Linked DNA regions of Homo sapiens: region 1 is linked to region 2. Evidence: promoter capture Hi-C in human tissues and cell types (Jung and others, 2019). All regions are on one chromosome and are shown on one strand. Each heading gives the region's core, a stretch centred on a gene start or on the middle of the fragment in contact. The rest is flanking DNA. Distances are from core to core; before and after follow the strand shown. Region 1 has its middle 36 kb from the start of ZNF519. Region 2 holds the start of ZNF519 (zinc finger protein 519).

The links. The method cuts DNA at HindIII sites, captures the fragments that hold promoters and counts their contacts. A contact is called where the count stands out against the background at its distance.
Region 1: a contact is called between a fragment that was not itself captured here and the fragment with the promoter of ZNF519 in region 2, in 2 of the 25 tissues and cell types used here (ovary and stomach).

The regions. Positions count from the first base shown.
Region 1 is chr18:14,164,642-14,171,846 of GRCh38, forward strand. No RefSeq gene overlaps it. Among named protein-coding and RNA genes, the nearest start is that of ZNF519, 36 kb to the left of the region's middle. The HindIII fragment of the contact is 8,377 bases long and covers 1-7,027 here.
Region 2 is chr18:14,130,807-14,137,187 of GRCh38, forward strand. ZNF519 (zinc finger protein 519) reads right to left here and starts at 1,629. Exons shown (of 3, transcript NM_145287.4): 1 at 1,469-1,629. The coding sequence starts at 1,471. RefSeq lists enhancers at 816-1,337, 1,240-1,579 and a silencer at 1,830-1,889. The HindIII fragment of the contact is 15,609 bases long and covers 1-6,381 here.

The DNA.
Region 1 (7,205 bases), core at 1,589-4,088, 35 kb after region 2:
GGAAGCACTAAATATGGAAAGGAACAACCACCGGTAGCAGCCACTGCAAAAACATCCCAAATTGTAAAGACCATCGAGGCTAGGAAGAAACTGCATCAACTAACGAGCAAAATAAGCAGCTAACATCATAATGACAGGATCAAATTCACACATAACAATATTAACCTTAAATGTAAATGGGATAAATGCTCCAATTAAAGGACACAGACTGGAAATTGGATAAAGAGTCAAGACCCATCAGTGCACTGTATTCAGGAGACCCATCTCATGTGCAGAGACACACATGGGCTCAAAATAAAGGGATGGAGAAAGATCTACCAAGCAAATGGAAAACAAAAAAATGCAGGGGTTGCAATCCTAGTCTCTGATAAAACAGACTTTAAACCAACAAAGGTCAGAAGAGACAAAGAAGGCCATTACATAATGGTAAAGGGATCAATTCAACAAGAAGAGCTAACTATCCTAAATATATATGCACCCAATACAGGAGCACCCAGATTCATAAAGCAAGTCCTTAGAGACCTACAAAGAGACTCAGACTCCCACATAATAATAATGGGAGACTTTAACACCCCACTGTCAACATTAGACAGATCCACGAGACAGAAAGTTAACAAGGATATCCAGGAATTGAACTCAGCTCTGCACCAAGTGGACCTAATAGACATCTACAGAACTCTCCACCCCAAATCAACAGAATATACATTTTTTTCAGCACCACACCACACCTATTCCAAAATTGACCACATAGTTGGAAGTAAAGCACTCCTCAGCAAATGTAAAAGAACAGAAATTATAACAAACTATCTCTCAGACCACAGTGCAATCAAACTAGAACTCAGGATTAAGAAACTCACTCAAAACCACTCAACTACATGGAAACTGAACAACCTGCTCCTGAATGACTACTGGGTACATAAGGAAATGAATGCAGAAATAAAGATGTTCTTTGAAACCAATGAGAACAAAGACACAACATACCAGAATCTGTGGGACACATTTAAAGCAGTGTGTAGAGGGAAATTTATAGCACTAAATGCCCACAACAGAAAGCAGGAAAGATCTAAAACTGACACCCTAACATCACAATTAAAAGAACTAGAGAAGCAAGAGCAAACACATTCAAAAGCTAGCAGAAGGCAAGAAATAACTAAGATCAGAGCAGAACTGAAGGAGACAGAGACACAAAAAACCCTTCAAAAAATCAATGAATCCAGGAGATGTTTTTGGAAAAGATCAACAAAATTGATAGACCGCTAGCAAGACTAATAAAGAAGAGAGAAGAATCAAATAGATGCAATAAAAAATGATAAAGGGGATATCACCACCGATCCCACAGAAATACAAACTATCATCAGAGAATAGTATAAACACCTCTATGCAAATAAACTAGAAAATCTCGAAGAAATGGATAAATTCCTGGACACAGAACACCCTGCCAAGACAAAACCAGGAAGAAGTTGAATCCCTGAATAGACCATAATAGGTTCTGAAATTGAGGCAATAATTAATAGCCTACCAACCAAAAAGAGTCTAGGACCAGATGGATTCACAGCCGAATTCTACCAGAGGTACAAAGAGGAGCTGGTACCATTCCTTCTGAAACTATTCCAATCAATAGAAAAAGAGGGAATCCTCCCTAATTCATTTTATGAGGCCAACATCATCCTGATACCAAAGCCTGGCACAGACACAACAAAAAGAGAATTTTAGACCAATATCCCTGATGAACATCAATGCAAAAATCCTCAATAAAATCCTGGCAAACCAAATCCAGCAGCATATCAAAAAGCTTATCCACCACGATCAAGTTGGCTTTGTCCCTGGGATGCAAGGCTTGTTCAACATACACAAATCAATAAATGTAATCCAGCATATAAACAGAACAAATGACAAAAACCACATGATCATCTCAATAGATGCAGAAAAGGCCTTCGACAAAATTCAACAACACTTCATGCTAAAAACTCTCAATAAACTAAGTATTGATGGGATGTATCTCAAAATAATAAGAGCTATTTATGACAAACCCACAACTAATATCATACTGAATGGGCAAAAACTGGAAGCATTCCCTTTGAAAACTGGCACAAGACAGGGATGCCCTCTCTCACCACTCCTATTCAACATAGTGTTGGAAGTTCTGGCCAGGGCAGTCAGGCAAGAGAAAGAAATAAATGGTATTCAACTAGGGAAAGAGGAAGTCAAATTGTCCCTGTTTGCAGATGACATGATTGTATATTTAGAAAATCCCATCATCTCAGTCCAAAATCTCCTTAAGCTGATAAGCAACTTCAGCAAAATCTCAGGATACAACATCAATGTGCAAAAATCACAAGCATTCCTATACACCAATAACAGACAAACAGAGAGCCAAATCTTGAGTGAACTCCCATTCACAATTGCTTCAAAGAAAATAAAATACCTAGGAATCCAGCTTACAAGGGATGTGAAGGACCTCTTCAAGGAGAACTACAAACCACTGCTCAATGAAATAAAAGAGGATACAAACAAATGGAAGAACATTCCATGCTCATGGATAGGAAGAATCAATATTGTGAAAATGGCCATACTGCCCAAGGTAATTTACAGATTCAATGCTATCCCCATCAAGCTACCAATGACTTTCTTCACAGAATTGGAAAAAACTACTTTAAAGATCATATAGAACCACAAAAGAGCCCGCATTGCCAAGACTATCCTAAGCCAAAAGAACAAAGCTGGAGGCATCACACTACCTGACTTCAGACTATACTACAACTCTGCAGTAACCAAAACAGCATGGTACTGGTACCAAAACAGAGATACAGACCAATGGAACAGAATAGAGTCCTAGGAAATAATACCACACATCTACAACCATCTGATCTTTGACAAACCTGACAAAAACAAGAAATGAGGAAAGGATTCCCTATTTAATAAATGGTGCTGGGAAACCTACCTAGCCATATGTAGAAAGCTGATACTGGATCCCTTCCTTACACCTTATATAAAAATTAATTCAAGATGGATTAAAGACTTAAATGTTAGGCCTAAAGCCATAAAAACCCTAGAAGAAAACCTAGGCAATACTATTCAGGACGTAGGCATGGGCAAGGACTTCATGACTAGAACACCAAAAGCAATGGCGACAAAAGCCAAAATTGACAAATGGGATCTAATCAAACTAAAGAGCTTCTGCACAGCAAAAGAAACTACCATCAGAGTGAACAGGCAACCTACAGGGTGGGAGAGAATTTTTACAATCTACCCATCTGACAAAGGGCTAATATCCAGAATTTACAAAGAACTGAAACAAATTTACAAGAAAAAATCAAACAACGCCATCAAAAAGTGGGCAAAGGATATGAACAGTCACATTTATGCCGGCAAAAGACACATGAAAAAATGCTCATCATCACTGGCCATCAGAGAAATGCAAATCAAAACCACAAGGAGATTAAATATGAATTATTAGCTTTAAGGTATAATTAACATATAATGAGCATCAGCAATTTGAAGTGTACAACTTAACGAACTTTCAGAATAGTCATGTAACCACAACCATGATCATGACATAGAACATTTCAAACATCACCACAATCAGTCCCCTACATTTCCTTTGCAATAAATTTCCTCCCTTAACTCCTACTCCTGGCATCCACTGATCTGCTTTCTGTCCTGAATTTTGTCTTCTCTAGAAATTTTAAAAGAAATCACATAGTATGTCATCTCTCTTTCACTTAGCATAATATTTTTGAGATTCACGAATATTGCCGAGTCAGTAGTTAGTTCCTTTTTATTGCTGAATAGTATTCCATTCTTTCAAAGTATCACTGTTGGTTTATTCATTCACAAGTTAATGGACATTTGGGGCTGTTTACAAATTTAGGTTATTATAAATAATATGTACACTCGAGTATGCATCCTTGAGTGAAGGTATATGCCTTTGTGTGATTTTTTATTTTCATATTATAGGTACACAACATAATTTTCATTTTCTTCACAATTGTAACTTGCCTTCAAGATCTGTATATATTGATTAATATTCACAGATATAAATGTTAAAATCTATACACACGTATTCTTGTTCCTAATCTTATGTTATCATTCTATGCTTGAAAATTTATAACATATTTTTAATGCTAGTATCTACTGTTTGATTCCTTTCTGAATGACTTTTTTTCAGGTTTATTGAGGTATGATTGAAAAATAAAAATTGTATATATTTAAGGTGTACAAAACATGATGTTCTGATAAACTTATACATTCTAAAATGAGTACCACAATCAAGGTAATTAACATATCCATTACGTCATACAGTTTACCTCTGAAAGAGAAGGTAAGAATACTTGAGATAAGATACTTTCTTACCTTATTAGTGGGGCAAAAAGTTGTAAAGATTGCAAAACAGCTAATCCTGATAAAAATGCAGGAAAATAGGCATTTCAGTGGGGATGAAGCTGTGACCTGCTGCAACTACTGGGGAACATAAATCTAGTAATAACTATTACAAATTTTAAATGCAAATGTTCGTGACACAGAAACCCCAGATTTGGGATTCTAGTCTATAGAATTAAGAGCATCAGTTAAGAAGAATGTATGAACAAGATATTTATTAAGACTTAGCTATGGTGTCAAAAAACTGAAAACATCTGAATATCCACCCATTCAGTGAAATGGTCGAGTAAATGAGGCTCATTAGTGTAACAGAATGTTACCTAATATTGAAAGGTATGTGTTAGATCTCTATCAACTATTTTAAGGAACAGCTAAAATATTTTCTTAAATAAAGCAAGATGCAAAGTAATGAGCATAAAATAATTTCATTTTAAAATACAACCACCACCATCCTATGTATGTATGTGTATTTTGCATTTGAATGTACGAGTAAGTAAATGTGAGTGGAAGGATACACATCAGCCAATAGCACTAATTAGCTCAGAGGGAATGTGAGTAGAAAAGGGTGAGAATACTATTTTATTTTATTATTTTATTTTTTGTTTTTTGAGATGGACTCTCGCTCTGTCGCCCAGGCTGGAGTGCAGTGGCATGATCTCAGCTCACTGCAACCTCTACCTCCCAGGTTCAAGCAATTCTCCCTGCCTCAGCCTCCTGAGTAGCTGGGATCACAGGCGCCTGCCACTACATCCAGTTAATTTTTTTTTTGTAATACACTTTTAAAAATACATTTTTTTAGCCAGGCGCGGTGGCTCACACTTGTAATCCCAGCACTTTCAGAGGCTGAGGCAGGTGGATTACCTGAGGGTGGGAGTTTGAGACCAGCTTGACCAACATGGAGAAATCCCATCTCTACTATAAATACAAAATTAGCCGGGCATGGTGGCACATGCCTGTAATCCCAGCTACTTGGGAGGTTGAGGCAGGAGAATTGCTTGAACCCAGGAGGCAGTGGTTGCAGTCAGCCAAGATTGTGCCATTGCACTCCAACCTGGGCAACAAGAGCGAAACTCCATCTCAAAAAAAAAAAAAAAATTAAATCCAGAAAGATTTAAAAATCTAAACTTTAAAATCTAGAAAATATCAGAGAAAAATTAAAAAGTACACTTCAAAAATCTTGGCATATGCCAGACAAAAAGGTCACATGCTGAATGATTCCATTTATATCAAATGTCTAGTTTAGAATAAGTAAATCCATAGAGACAAAAAACTAGAATAGTGGTTGCCAAGGGCCATGACGGGAGAGGGACAGGGAGTGATTACTGATGGGTTTCTTTTTGGGAAGATGAAAATGTTCTGCACTGAAACAGTGGTGATTGATGACTGTACAACTTTGTTAATCCAGGGCCTGTGCCAGGGAAGGGCCAATGCAAGGGCAGGGCAGGGACAGGGTGGCACAGGGCCAAGACCGGGCCAGGGTGGGGCCAGGGCAGGGCAGGGCCAGGACAGGCCAGGTAATGGTAGGGCAGGTCCAGGGCAGGGGCAGGGCAGGGCCAGGTCGAATGCTAAGGCCATGCCCAGAGCAGGGTCAAGGCAGACGCAGGGCCACATCATGGCAGGGCCAGGTTAGCACAGGGCCGAGGAAAGGCCAGGGCAGGTAGGAGCCAGGGCAGGGCCAGGGCCAAGGCAGTGCCAGGGCCAGGACAGGGCCAGAAGCAGGGCAGGGCCACAGCTAGGTCAGGACCAGGGCCAAGTCAGGATCAGGGCTATCGTAGGACCAGTGGCAGGGTAAGGGCCACGACAGGACCAGGGGCAGGGCCATGGGCATGGCCAAGGCAGGGCTCCAGCCTGGGCAGTGTTGGGCTGGGCAGGGCCAGGGTAGTATAGTGCCCAGTCAGGGCTGGGCCAGGGCAGGACCAGAACCAGGGCAGGGCCAGAGCCAGGGTAGAACCAGGCAGGGTCACAGCCAGGGACATGACAGGACCAAGGCCAGGGCCAGAAGCAGGGCAGAACCAGGGCCAGGGCAGGGACATGGCAGGGCCAGGGCTTAAGACAGGGCCAGGTCAGGGCCAGGGCTATGGCAGGACCAGGGCCAGTGGAGGGCCAGGGCAGGGTGAGGGTAGCACAGGGCCAAGGCAGGGCAGGGTCAGTGTAGAGCAAGGACCAGGCCAGGGTATGGCAGGGCACAGCCAGGGAAGTCTAGGGCCAGAGCCAGGTCCGGGGCATGGACAGGGCAGGGCCAGAAACATGGCAGGACCAGAAAGGGGCCAGGGCAAGGGCAGGCCAGGGAAGGACCAGGGAAAAAGCATGGCCAGGGAGGGGCCAGGGCAAGGGGAGGGCCAGGGCAGAACCAGGGCCAGGGCAGGCCAAATGCAGGGCCAGGGTAGGGTGAGGGTAGGGCCAGGGCGAGGTCAGGGCCAGGGCAAGACTAAGATAGCACAGGGCCAAGGCCAAAGCCAGGGCAGGGGCAGGAGCAGGCCTGCATGAGGGCAGGACCAGGGCCAGGGATATGGCAGGACCAGGGGCAGGGCCAGGGCCAGGGCTGTGCCAGGACAGAACAAGAGCAGAGCAGGGCAGTACCAGAGCCAGGCCATAGAGAGGGTAGGGCAAATGCCAAGGCAAGGCCAGGGTAGTGCCAGGGCTGAGGCAAGGTCAGGGAAGGTCCAGGGCTGAGTCAGGGCTAGACCCAAGACAGGGGCAAAGGCCGGGGCAGATCTAGGGCACAAGCAGGGCAGGCTAGGGCAGGGCAATAGCAAGACCAGGCCATGGCAGGGCCAGCCCAGGATAGAACAGGGCACAGGCAGGGCAGGGCCAGGGACGCGGCT
Region 2 (6,381 bases), core at 379-2,878:
CAAGCAATGTGTTTCCATGGAATGAAAACTGGGGTTGGGGGAAAAAAAAAAAAAATCTTAAAAATCCCAAGGGATTCTTTTTTTACAGGAAGGGTAAGCCTGGATATTTCTCTCACCCCCAGGGCATTCAGCTGCTCCTTTGAGAAGCTGCACTCCCATCCCTCAGTGTGTCCTCTGGAAGATTACCAAAGGGCTGCTATTCACCAGAACTCCCAAAATACATGGCTCTGGTTTGTATCTTGGGCCATCTCAAGACAGTTCTAAAACTCAGGACTAGAAAAAGGCCCGAATGTGGCTAAGGAAACATTGCCCCATAAAGTTTCCCAACGAAAACCTCAATCCCAAGATGGCCTAATAAGGGCGTTTGTGCTAAGGGAGGATACAAGGAGAAACAGCAGAAAGATTTTTTACAGTTGAGTGCCAGGGGATTATTTTCTGCTTTTTTCTCATGTGAAATATTTGTAAGTAGAAAATAAGTATTTTACAAATTGCCATCCACTGCTCTGTGAAAAAGTGATTAATTCAAATACTGTTTCTGAAATGTGCAATAAAGGACAAAAACAGTTGATAATGTATGGGAGCGTAGAAGTTGGCTTTGGGGAATGTCAGCAAGAAACCGGAAATTTAAGATTTTACTTCAAGCCAGGTTAGGCTGGCAGAACAGAGTAGTGGATGTGAGACCCTGCTTGCCACACATTTGGAAAATGCAGGCGAAAACCAGTGTCTTTGATTAAAGTTAAAATAATTACATAGCAGTCATTTAGACTGAAGTGGCTCTAGTGGTCTAGGCCTCTATGTAAAAAAAGAAATCTAACTCAAATGCATTTTTTTCTAAGTTACTACCTTAGGAGGAAACGAAATTCAAGCTTAAACAACTACAAACCTCCAATTAATCCCTGATTACATAACCAGGAAATTTCCACCCAGACACTCCAAATAAAGCGACTACATAACTGTACCCAATTATTTAATTGTCTTTGCTTCCTCACACACCTTATACAAGCCTTTCTTTCAAGACCTTCTAGTAGCCCCCCAACCACAAACCATTGCTGAGCGCTGTCCCATTAATTAATCACTGTTTACTCATATAAGCTGTCTATGTTTTAATGGCGCCTCAGTCTAATTCCGAACAGGGTAAGGTAGGGACGGGGGACCCCACGGACCACAGCTCCTTCCACGCAGGAACCCTGCACACCGAGTCGGCGTCTTTCCGATGACTTTCGCCTCATCACCTCACAACCTGGGGAAGATGCAGGGCTGCGGGCGCAGAGCTGCGCAAAGAGGGCTACAGGCTGGGGCCAAAGCCGCCGTGCAGGGACAGGACAGGACGCCCGGAGTCCCTGCACCGGAGGGGACTGAGGGCTGAGCTGCAGACTCGACTCGCAGACTAGGTCCCGTCACCGCCATGTCCAGCCGGTTCCAAGGAGCCCCCTCCCCAGTCTCGGTACGCCCTGCCCCCCACACTCACCATTTCTCGGCTTCAGGGGTGTCCTGGAGTCTTAGCTATAAATCATTCAATGCCAGCAGGTCACAGAGCGACGGAGTGAGTGGCAGAATCACCGAAGTCTCCCGGAGCAGAGGACACAAGGCAATGAAGCCCTAACCCCGCGCTCTGGCTGAAGTGAGACAAAGGCCGCGCCAGATTCCGGAAGCCGCCCCTTCCTCCCTGGCTGCGCGCCTGATTGGACAGTTCCCACCCCAGAGCCCTGATTGGATAGTAGTGCAGGCACCGCGACCTCAGGCCTTGCGTGTCAGAAGATGCTACCATACACTGCACGGAATGAGCCGAGAGTGACAGGCTCTTGGCTCCAGTCACTTTCAGGCAGGGCTTTCTGTCTGTGCTGCGCCTGGCTCTGCCCAGGGGTCATTTTTTTAGCATTGTGGTGTATAACGTTATGAAGGTTATGTTCGTTTATAAAACACACACACACGTTGTTCACAAATGGAAGCAATATAATGACAATTATTTAATATTTCAGATTTCATAACCTTTCTGGCCGCCGGTCTTTGGAGTGGGACACCTAAGATTTTAAGAGAGAAGCAATCCTCTAAAAAATAAAACGTTAGCTATTGTGAATTTTAAATGTCTTATTAGCCAGATCAAAAATAGTAATAAAAAGAGTCCTGACATGGTGGCTCACGCCTGTAATCCCAGCACTCTGAGAGGCCAGAGGTCAGAAGTTCGAGACCACTCTGGCCAACATAATGAAGCCCTGTCTACTAAAAATACAAAAATTAGCCGGGCATGGTGGCGGGCGCCTGTAATCCCAGCTGCTTGGGAGGCTGAGGCAGGAGAATCGCTTGAACCCAGGAGGTGGAGGTTGCAGTGAGCTGAGTTTGTGCCACTGCACTGCAGCCTGGGTGACAGAGCAAGACTCCATCTCAGAAATAATAGGAATAATAAAAAGAAACAAGTGAAATTGTTTGTAATACTCTTTAAGCCATTATACCCAAAATATTATTTTTCATGTGTGGTCAACAAATAATTATAAATATTTTGGATCTAAATCTTTTAAACTCGCTGTGTATTTTATGTTTGCAGCACATTTTACTTCAAACCAGCAGCCATGAGGGCTCTGATGCTCCGATCTCAGGGAGGTGAAGGCCTGAACACCTCTTTTTTTTTGTATTTCTAGGCTATTTATGATTTTTAACACAGACTAAATCAAATTACTGTGCCTGAAAAATCTTTTGCTTTGAAGGCAAGTGACATAAAGACAGAGCTGCTGATATTTTTTCCTGCTGCAATTTAGCCAATCAGCAGAATATGCTTTGAAGGGTAAAGATGTTTTCTAAGACCCCACATTCAGGAGCAGCTATGGGGCAAATCCCTAAAGCACACATAAAAATCACATACAGCCAATGTATTCCTCACCCTGAATCAATGCTTCTCACCCTTGGCTGCATATTTCAATAACCTTGTAGAGGAGTGTTTAAAGTCTTCAAACCCAAGTTGCAATGGGGTAATTAAGTCAATCTCTGGAGTGAGACCTAGGCAACAGTGTGATTTAAAGCTCTCGGGTGATTATAGCACACAGCTCAACTCCCATGTTACTGCTTTAAACCAACATCTTTTGGAGAGCCAGTTGAAATTATTTCTCAAATTAACATAGAAGTGTTTGCTGCTGAGTTGCGGCCTTTCAGTCTTGATTACTTACTTTCTATCCTTTGCAGAACTGACCTCTGCTACTTGTTTTGTTTCTGATTCACACCAGTTCCACACACACTGAGTGCACACTACGTACAGGGCCCTGTGCTAAGTGTCCTGGCCGTGGTGAGTACTATCGTGGAGGAAGGACTTTGCTGTAAAAAATTGCATTCCCCAAAACTACAACCATGCTACTTACTCAATTGAGGTAAAAATGAAAGATCGAGGGGGACCCCCAAGAGTCAGGATGTGAATAAATACCTTGGAATATTAATACCCATCTCATGATGTCTGACACTAAATGCCTCACTTTCAAACAAAACAATACCAAACATTGCTATTATTCTGTTAAGATTAAATATGTAATATTTAAATTTTATTGAATGACATGCATACAGAAATATATGTCCAAAGCATTAACATAATGCTCAGTAAATTATTACAAACAAATACATTTGTGTAGGCATAGGATAGAACTAGCCTTGTTTCTGCCACACAAACCACTTTCTCTTTTCCTCCCCTCCAAAAGTAACCACAATCTTAAGAGCTAATGTTGTAGATAAAGTTTGTCTTTTTATACAATTATTTTATTAGAGAATATTTTAAACATATATGCAATAAGCAATGTAGTATAATAGACTGATGCTCAGCCTAAACATCTACTAATTATGTGCCATTTCTGTTTAACTTCTACTTCAACTCATTCCCCATCCCCACTTTATTATTGTTTTTAGTTATTTTCTATGAGATAAGATGTATATACATTGAAACATACAATCTTTTCTGTACCTTTTTAACAAATAAATACACTCATATAACCTTTTCCCTTTTAATTATAGAATTACCCCCACTTAACAATTATTAATATGCATGTGAATCACCTGGGAATATTATTTAAAAACCTGATTTTGATACGATATACTTGGGTTTTGCCTGAAAATCTGTATTTCTAACAAAATAGAGATCCATAGAGCACATGGTAACTACAAGGTGTCTTTTATCTAAAGCGTATAAAATTTGATGAATAAAATTAAGAAAAATTGAGCTCAGGTAAAAGAATACATTAAAATGAATATGCAATATGCTATCTATAGGAGATTTGGTTACTAATGACTCACATTCATAGGTGGCCTTTACAGAATTACCCAAAATGAGTCATTTACACACCAAATGCACACAATTTTCATAGCTTCCCATTAAAATTATATTTAATGCCTTTACAAAATCTAACTCAGCTTTCTTACAAAATAAGTAACAACATTTTATATGACATTATAAGTTCCATCTATATTAAACCTAAACTTACATAATTTTATTAGGTAGGGTCTGTGTGTCTACCACCCAATATTCTTTTGGGTTCCACCATTTGCACAGGCACCACAGCTGAGGAGCACAGATTCACCACACACAAGATGTTCCCTGCATCTTTTTCTTTCTCAGGGTATCAGTTTATCAGTCAATCAAGTCATGTGAGAATGGAGGTCATGTATTTCCTGGCATAGAGTGTCTCATGGACCCTCTCTTCAGGGGAGAAAAATACTAGAAGGTTCTTTTAGGGGGCACTTCCTGGGACATGGGCTAAGCCATGTAAGGGATGAAGGCTCAGACCAGCAGGTATAGACTTCTCAGAAGGGAAAGATGAGGCAACCATTCTGAATCTGGACCTCTACCACTGCTTGTCCCATCTCATCAAGACAGTTCTGAGGGATTGTTCCTAATGTCTGGATGGTGGAGGTTGGGGAACAGTATGGGCTTTGATGGGACTCAGGTAAGATCCGTCATCGGAAGGCAGGAGGCCAGTGCTCAGCATCTGAATTTGTGTCCTTGTGGACAATGGGGTGCCTTTTTAGGTCCAAGTCCATTTTCACCAAAGAGGAGGCTGGAGACTCTGAATGGCTCCCAGATTCCATTTATGATACTTTTTGGGGTGGGGTCAGAATGGGTCTGAGTTTCAGTATCTTTGGGGAATTCTGAAAAGTCTGTTTGGGGAATCTGGAAAGACCTCTTGCCTGGTGCCCAAATGCTTGGTTTTCTGTCCTGGATTTATACATTCTTGGGAGCCAGAGAGCCAGTTTTGCATTCACACCAACACAACTGAGTCAGAAGTGGAAGCAGCCAAGACAGGTGTCTTGGTGACAGGTGTCTCATCTTTGCCTTAGTTCCTCCCATCAGTCTTGGTAAAGAGTCCTGGAGTCTGGAGCTGCTGGGGCTTTCCTGGTCCCAGGTTCTGCTTTTCCTTCTCATTTGGCCCAAAAGCTATGGGACTGTACCCTATCCTAGCACTTCACTGGGCATCTTCTGGTTCTGTCCATGTGCCCTAAGACTTGGTAGCTCTTTCGCTTTCTCTGTAGGTTGAAGAGAAGGGAGGTCAGTGAGTCCGAATCATCACAGGCAGCTTTCAAAGATTAATCTTAGGATGATTTTTTGAATTTAGGTATTGATTTCCTAGGACTGGACCCAGACAAGTGACATACTGGGTGTCTGAAAACTTATGATGCATTAGTAATATTCACAACCCATTTTAAACTGAGAAACAAAAAGAAAATACCAAAATGGTAAGGGTTACGATAATCCAGGTAAGTTTATCAGCTCAGATTGTGAATCCTGAGCAAATTCTACAGAACACAATGTGGCTCCCAGGATGAATGAGGGAGGGTGAGATAGAGCAGAAGTTTCCCTCTCCAGCTGGGCTTTCTGCTGCCTTAGGAATTGGAAGTTGATTGAGTTAGCACTGGCTCCAATCTGATCAATTCAACGTGATCATATCTGATCTAATTATCCTTCCAACATTCAAGGGATAAAGGAATATTCTATTTGGGGTTTACTTTTCTGCAGCCCTGTATATCTTAATGGCACACGCAGCCCAACTAGGCCTTCAAGATGCCACATCCCCTATCATAGAATTTTATTTTATCATATATATATATATTTAATACAATCAAGTATAATTTAATATTTGTCATTTCCAAGCATTTGAAAAATTATGGCCTATATATATACACACACAATTGTAATACTATAATGATTTTCTTCATGTGCAAAATATATATACAACTGTTAATATATGGTCTGTTTAATTTTGCATTTTGAATCTGGGCAGAGTTTTGAGTACTCCTGGGTGGGAACTGGGCCGGGAAACAAAAGGTGATGAGCCTCCTGCATTCTAGTCCCGGTGCCTCCTGGTTTTGTTATATCTTGTTTTTTGATGCTATGGCAGGACTCTGCAAAAGTCT